Regions from separate parts of the Homo sapiens genome. Here region 1 is linked to region 2. Evidence: promoter capture Hi-C in 16 types of primary human blood cells and fetal thymus (Javierre and others, 2016). All regions are on one chromosome and are shown on one strand. The core of a region is centred on a gene start or on the middle of the fragment in contact, and the rest is flanking DNA. Distances in the headings are between cores, read along the strand shown.

Region 1 (3,411 bases), core at 607-3,106, 210 kb after region 2:
GCAGTGACCGATTTCATCAGGAGCCCCCACCGTGTGCACAGGCAGCACCTGCTCTTAGATAATTTCTTAGTCAAAATCTGGCCACTGAACTCTCGGGGGAGAAATCTCATGGCGCTCTTAGGGGCCCTGAAATGGGAAGACACTTCTGGTGGAGCAGAGACCCGGATTTCCCAGTTTGCCTGGAGAGGCCAGGAGCTCCAGGTAGATTAGTTGCAGGTGTGGAGCTGGCTGTGCCTGCAGTGCCACAGGGGCCTGACGAGCGCCACAGCACCCGTAGGCAGGCCCTGCCACCTCAGATATGCGCCTGCTGGTCTGGAAAGTTCTCTTTTGATTGGGGTCTGCATCCAGGAGAATGGGAGAATGGGATGGCCTATACATATATATATATGTATAATGTTACATATTATTTAATATTTAAAATATTATATATTATAGCGTTAGTATGGTATGCAGTAATAAAGCAATAGTATACATAATATCAGATATTATGATAATACTATATCATTATACTACATGCTATTATATAGTATATATCATATTACATATGATTATACTATCCAATATTTGTAGTATCAATAAAATAATGACAAAGTATAAAGTAATTTTCTATATCAACATACTATGACAGTATAATGAGGCTGATAGGCTCTATTTACCTCCTAAGCAGATCTCTTCAAGGGAAGGCCTGCTGCTGTGGGTCCCAGGCCCAGCTCACCTCTGAGCAGGGATCGGTGGTCTTCAGGGACATTAGGATGGAGAGGAGCGAGGGGCGGGCAGTGAGGACATCCCCCGTCTCCTGTGGTAGATGTCTTTTTGCAGGGAGGTAAATGCAGAGCAGGGCCTCTCATGGCCTCTGGTTCCCTCTCCTGCCCCCTCTCCCACCCCAGCAGCTTTTGTGACTTCAACCTGTCCTGGGTCCATAATCATCAGTGTTTTCCCTTGTGTAGCTCCAGAGAGGGACCCTGTGGGCTCCTGGTACAACGTCACCATACTGGTGAAAATGGACTTCAAGGAACTCCAGCAAGTGGACCCCAGGCTCCTGAACCACATGCGCCTTCTGCATTCCTTGGTAGGTGAGACAGACGGGGGCTGCCTGCACCCTCCTTGTGGCAGCTGCTCAGGCAGACCCAGGTATGGGGCCGTGGAAGGGACCTGGGGGTTGGGGAGGGTGATGTTCCCCAAATGGCCCCAAATGACTGACTCTGAACGAAATTCTAGTTCTTAAAAAATCAGCTTCAAAGAGGTATGATTTACATGCAACAAAATGCACACAACTGAAGCGTGTAGTTGGCTGAGTTGTTATGTGTGTACCCTCATAGGCCCGCCTGTCGTGGTGGAGAACGCGGATCCCTAAGCTTGCAGGGGTCTGCAGTCCCAGCAAAGACAGCCTAAGCCCCGAGCTCTTCCCTCACCACCCTCAGTCCCAATTTCTTCAAGTTCTGGCTCCTGCTTCGTGGAAGCCAGCACCAACCTGGGAGTGCTGAGATGGGAACCGTAGCCCAGGGCTGGAGAGCACCCTGGGGTCTGATGGTTAGCAGCGCCCCTGGCCTCTCCACACAAGTCAGAAGCACACCCCAGGGTGGCATCCAAAACTGTCTCCAGACGTCGCCCACTGTCCCCTGGGGATAAAAACAAACACCCTGGCTGACCCTTGCTGATGACACAGGTCATGCTTTCTGGCCCATCAGCAGTGATTACCAACCAGGATGTCTTCTCCAGCTCAGGCCACCATCAGTCTCGGGAATCCCAGTGTGGACAGGGCGCTGCGTGTCCCCAAGGCTGCCGCGTGTCCCCAAGGCCGCCCTCCCTGGGGGATGGTCTGGCTTCAGGACCGGCTGCTGACAGGGGCTTGTGCTCAGAGGGGCCTCAGCTTGGTCTAATGTGCTGCTGTTGCCTCTGGAAATGCCGAACACTTTTCAGACAAGGGGCCCCGCATTTTCCTTTGGCATCTGTGTAGCTGTTCTGTGCTTCAGATCTTTTGTGTGTCCCATATGTCCCTGGGTGTCTTGGTGTCAAACCCAGGGTTGGGTCACTCCTTGGCCGTTAGACTAAGCTGGCTGGCAGCCCAGATCAGATGGTGCACACCTCATGTTGTTCTGGGCTGCTGGCCAGTGAGCTGCTAGACAGGTAGTCTGCAGCCTCGGCCTTAACAGCCCGGGCTAGGAGTGATTCCTGTTTCCTCTTAGCTTGTTAAGGGGACTGCCCAATTGGCCAGTAAGAAACTAGCTCTGAAGCCACACTGCCTGGCCCTAGTGTTGCCACTCATCAGCTGTGTGACCTTGGGTAAGTCACTTAACCTCTCTGTGCCTGAGATACCTCCTCCATTAAACATAAATAATCGGCCAGGAGTGGTGGCTCAAGCTTGTAATCCCAGCACTTTGGGAGGCCGAGGCAGGCGGATCACTTGAGGTCAGGAGTTAAAGACCAGCCTGGCCAACATGGCGAAACCCTGTCTCTACTAGAAATCCAGTAATTAGCCAGGCGTGGTGGCACGTGCCTGTAATCCCAGCTACTGGGGAGGCTGAGGCAGGAGAATTGCTTGAACTCAGGAGGCGGAGGTTGCAGTGAGCTGAGATCGTGCCACTGCACTCCAGCCTGGGCTACAGAGCGAGACTCTTGTCTCTAAATAAATAAAAAGTAAATAAATAGAAATAATCATAACCCTGCCTGAGACAGGGCCATGAGCTTAAATCATACATGTAAAGAGCTTGAGATGGTTCCTGAGCTTCCTGATGCGTGTGGGGCCTGAGATGTTGTGGTTGTTGTGTTTTCAATATTGCTGCGTGACACCTGCTGTCTCCTCGTGCATGTAGGTTTCATGTCTCCAACCAGCCCATTACCCCCTGCAGAAGCGCCTGCCTTGCACAGGGGTCAGGCACCAGCAGGGGCTGGTCTCTGAGGCCTGCTTCTGCTGCTGAATAAGGGGTTCCGATGAGGTCGGGGCTGGTTCCCAGTTCTGTATGCTAAATTATGAGCTGCATCTCCTCCCAGGAAGGGGCTTCAAGTGTGTATCGGAGGACTCCTGCTCTCCCCAAACCTCCTTTGGAGTTCCCAGTGGAGGCTTGGGGGTTTGCTGGCAAAGTTTGTTCTGGTGACCACTGGTCTGGCTGTGCAGCTGCCAGTTCACCTGGCTTCCCAAGGGTTGAGATTTCAAGATATTAAGCTGAAATAAAAATACTGCATATGAAATGAGGAAAGTGATCATTAAACCTCAGAAAAATAATTGGATGTGTACAACAGGAGACCGTGGCTTTTGATCTCTAATTGTCTAATTCTAGTTCTAATTCTCTGTTGTCAGCTGCAAGAGACCTGCAGTCTTGGCAAGGGCAGAAGACCGAGGGTCCTGGGTCTGGCTGCTGTATTAGTGTCCTGGGGCCACTGTAACCAAGGACCACAGACTGGGGGCTTCAA
Region 2 (3,649 bases), core at 987-3,486:
GGCACCACCGCACCCACCTCCACCAGAGGCTCCCTCACAGCACTGGTCTCCACTGTGGCCCCTCCTCAGACAGCCCCTTCTAGTCCCAGCCCCCAAGTGCCCCATCCCCTGCCCGCCACCTGCCTGCCCTCCTTCCTTTCTTCATGCTCTTCCCATCGTCTTACCTGAGAGTTTTATGATTTTCTGTCTACACCACCTCCACTCCCCTGCCCAGAACATTAGGTCCACCAGGTGCAGCCCTCTCTCCATTCACTACAGCGTGGGGGCACATAACAGGTGTTCAGTAAACATTGGTGGAAAGAATGCATGAATGGCCGAATGAATGAATATCTGCCCACACCAGCACTGTGAGGGGAGCTGAGCAGGGCCATCCACACTTTGCAAATGAGGAACGGAGTCTGAAAAATCATTTAAGTCACCGCTCACCATCCCAACCTCTTGAGCGCACGGGTGGAAGACACAGTTGCCTTAAATCTCCCTTCAATCTGCAAAATGGCAGGACTGTTCTTTCCTGGCCTTCTGTACAGATAATGACATCGAAAATGATATGAGAGCCACATCCTAAGTGAAAAGAGTTCTTTGTCAAATATAATTATTCTAAGACAAGCTAGCAGCCTTCCAACTACAGTTGATTTTTAAATTTATTTATTTGTCTTCTGGAGAAATAACCGTCCCGCCTGCTTCCAAAATGGAACATTTAGCTTGTTCTTTGCTGGCTACTTTGCGGCAAAAAGTATGAATCACAGATAGAAGAAAAACAAACTATAAAAAAAATGGTGTTTTTGCTCTTGAAAGTCTAAATTATAGAGCTACTATTTCTTAATCGTTCACCGTGAGGCAGCGATGTCAGGAAATCTGGGGAAGGAGTGAAGCAGTGAAAACGTGGAACACGTGAAAATGTCCGAGCTTGAAACAAAATACGGTAGTGGTGTGTGCACCGGGGTGGGATCACCACCCTTATCGAGTGTTGACATCATTGCATTCTCCAAGGAGAACTGTCACTGCTACCTTTTAAGGTACATCACAAAGCCAGTGGCTCCTTCACATGTCACCACCCTTCAGGAACCAAGCTAGGTTCTCCAAATTCACTTGAGTCTGGCTTAAGCCAATGTGGTTTTTTTAAAACGAGTGTTGGTAGCTTTAAATACACACACAGGTCCACGTGTCTCTGATCACACACTTGTTTCTACCGTTTTAAACTCCCTTTGGGGACTTGGGGGTGAGGGGCAATTTCTGAGCATTTGTGGGGGAAAAAACCATCCACTACATTAGGGGGTTAAGAAAGGTAAATGGGTGATAACTCTAACCACCAGATAGGAGTGTTTATTTCCATGAGTTTTCATTTCTATTTTCTCAAGGCTAACCCCTGCGTGAACACCTCCCCTCTAGCAGGACGCTGCGCGTGGCCCCCGTCCCCACCTGTCCACGCGAGGCGGGCCTCACCTGAGCGGCCGGGCACGCCCCGTCCCCGAACGGCCACCCACCCCGGGTAGGCACGCGTCACCTGTCCATCCACCTCGCTACCTTCTCTCTGCCACCAAAAGGCTTACGAAAATAAGGCGCAGGGGGTCTGGGAGACCCCATCACCAGGACTCAGCTTCTCTAAACGCGGGGTTGGGGGTCCAGGGACCCCCCCGTGCGACCCGCATGGGCTGTACCCGAGGGCGGGGGATAACGACATCCCCTGGGGCCTCGGCGACGACGCCGCCCGGCGGCGGGGGCCGCGGGGCCGCGGGCCGGGGCGGCGAAGACCCTGCGCCGCGCCCACGGGCGAGCGCGGCCCGGCAGCCCCGCGGCCCCGCGCTGGGCCTGGCCGCGGGCGGGCGGGGGGCGCGAGGCAGGGGACGGGGGCGCGGAGCCCGGCCAGGAGCGCCCGCGGCGGCGGGACCCGGCGGGCGGGCGGCGCGCAGGGCGATCCCGGAGCGGCTCCGGGAAATCCAGCCGGGTTTTGACTCCGATCGCCAACGGTGCCCGCAGCCGGCGAATGTAACAAAGAACAGTCGGCATGGCGGCTGGACCGGGGCGGCGCGCGGCTGCCGGGCGCGGGGGGCGGGGGGCAGCGGGCCCAGGGCGCGCCGGGGCTCGCGGGGGCAGCGGGTGCGGCCCGGGGCCGGCGGGGCGCACGCCGGGGCGGGCGGCGGGCGCAGGGCCCGGAGCTTTACCTGCCTTTGGAATGTGCAGAGCGGGATCGGATCCGGACTCCGGGTTGCGATCCGCTCCGGAAACTGCGCAGCACCGGAAGCCGGGGGGCGGCGGCGGGGCATGGCGGGACTTGTAGTCCGCGGGCGGGCGCGGGGGGCGCAGGCGAGACCCTGGCGCGGCCGGGGGTCCTGCGGGTGGGACTGCGGGGCGCGGGCGGCGTGGACGGGGCAGCGGGCGCGCGCGGGGCGGGTCTGGCCGGAGGGAATTCCGCGCGCGGCCCCCCTCCCACGTGGCACGGCCCTGCCGCCCACGCGCGCGGGCAGCTCCCTCTCCACCTCTCCTCGGACGCGTTTCTTGCGGAGTTGGGGAGTGGTGGCGGTGGGTGGGTCGAGTTTTTCTCTAGAACAGGCCTGGGACTTGCCCCCACTCACGGTGACCTCTGGATTTGGCCGGCGGGGCCCTGGGACACGAGCTCTGTGCCCGCGAGGGGAGTCTGGCCTGGCGGGCTCCGCCACGCTACCGGTGAGCACCGGGCCAGCCGCGGACCTGGCTCTCCATTCTTCCCCGGGGGCCTGTGTGGCCTCTCTTGACCCCCTCCACCAAGTGTGTGTGCCATCACAAAACGTGAGACGGAGAAGGGACAGACTTTTCACCTTAGTCCTGGCCGCCCATATTCAGAGAGGCCGACTGTCTTGTTCATTGCTGCCTGGCAAAAACCTACATTCATAAAGAGAAGTGATGAACCGGGGAAAATGATTTTAAATTGATGCCACAAAAGGGCTCGTTTCCCTCATGTACGTGAAACTCTTGTGAACCAATAAAAATATATATGTATATAGAAAAATGAGCAAAGTGTGTGGATGGACAGTTCGTAGGAAATTCAATGGTTCTTAAGCATATGAGAAGCTATTCAACTACGCTGCAATAAGAGAAAAAAAGTCGCAGTGGGATCATTTTTATTAGATTAGCAAAGATTTTTTAAAACGTTTAATACAACCTGGGCAACATAGCCAGACCTTGTCTCTAAAAAACTTAGCTGGGCTCGGTGGCACGTGCCCGTAGTCTCAGCTACTCAGGAGGCTGAGGCAGGAGGGTCACTTGAGTCCCACAGTTTGAGGCTGCAGTGAGCTGTGATCGTGTCACTGCACTCCAGCCTGGGCAACAGAGTGAGACCCTGTCTCAAACAAAAACAAACAAAAAAAAGTTTTAATAGCATAATTTTGAAGAAACTAGAGAAACAAGCTCCTTTACGGGTAGGAGAATAAATTAGCGTAGTTTCCATTCAGATATTTGTGGATATCCATAAAAATTCTAAATGCACATAGCCTTTGACCCACATGCAGGAATGGTGCCAGAGACGGACTCGCTTGTATGAATGGCATATGTGATCATCACATTTGCTTACATACTACGTGCCATCCCATGGGAAGTGTTGGATGCACCTGGGCACATCCATAGGCTGCAACGCCGGGCAGCCGGAGACAGATTAGGCAAGTGTTGATCTGTG

The links. Contacts are between HindIII fragments. The CHiCAGO score rates a contact against its expected background, and 5 or more counts as called.
Region 1: a contact is called between a fragment that was not itself captured here and the fragment with the promoter of PRDM15 in region 2, in 1 of 17 cell types (naive B cells). The highest score is 6.0, in naive B cells.

The regions. Positions count from the first base shown.
Region 1 is chr21:42,084,344-42,087,754 of GRCh38, forward strand. It overlaps UMODL1 (uromodulin like 1), which reads left to right. Exons shown (of 23, transcript NM_001004416.3): 4 at 948-1,069. Among named protein-coding and RNA genes, the nearest start is that of UMODL1, 15 kb to the left of the region's middle. The HindIII fragment of the contact is 1,006 bases long and covers 1,354-2,359 here.
Region 2 is chr21:41,877,108-41,880,756 of GRCh38, forward strand. It overlaps PRDM15 (PR/SET domain 15), which reads right to left and starts at 2,237. Exons shown (of 24, transcript NM_001040424.3): 1 at 2,163-2,237. RefSeq lists enhancers at 1,061-1,110, 2,111-2,160 and a silencer at 2,311-2,360. The HindIII fragment of the contact is 16,753 bases long and covers 1-3,649 here.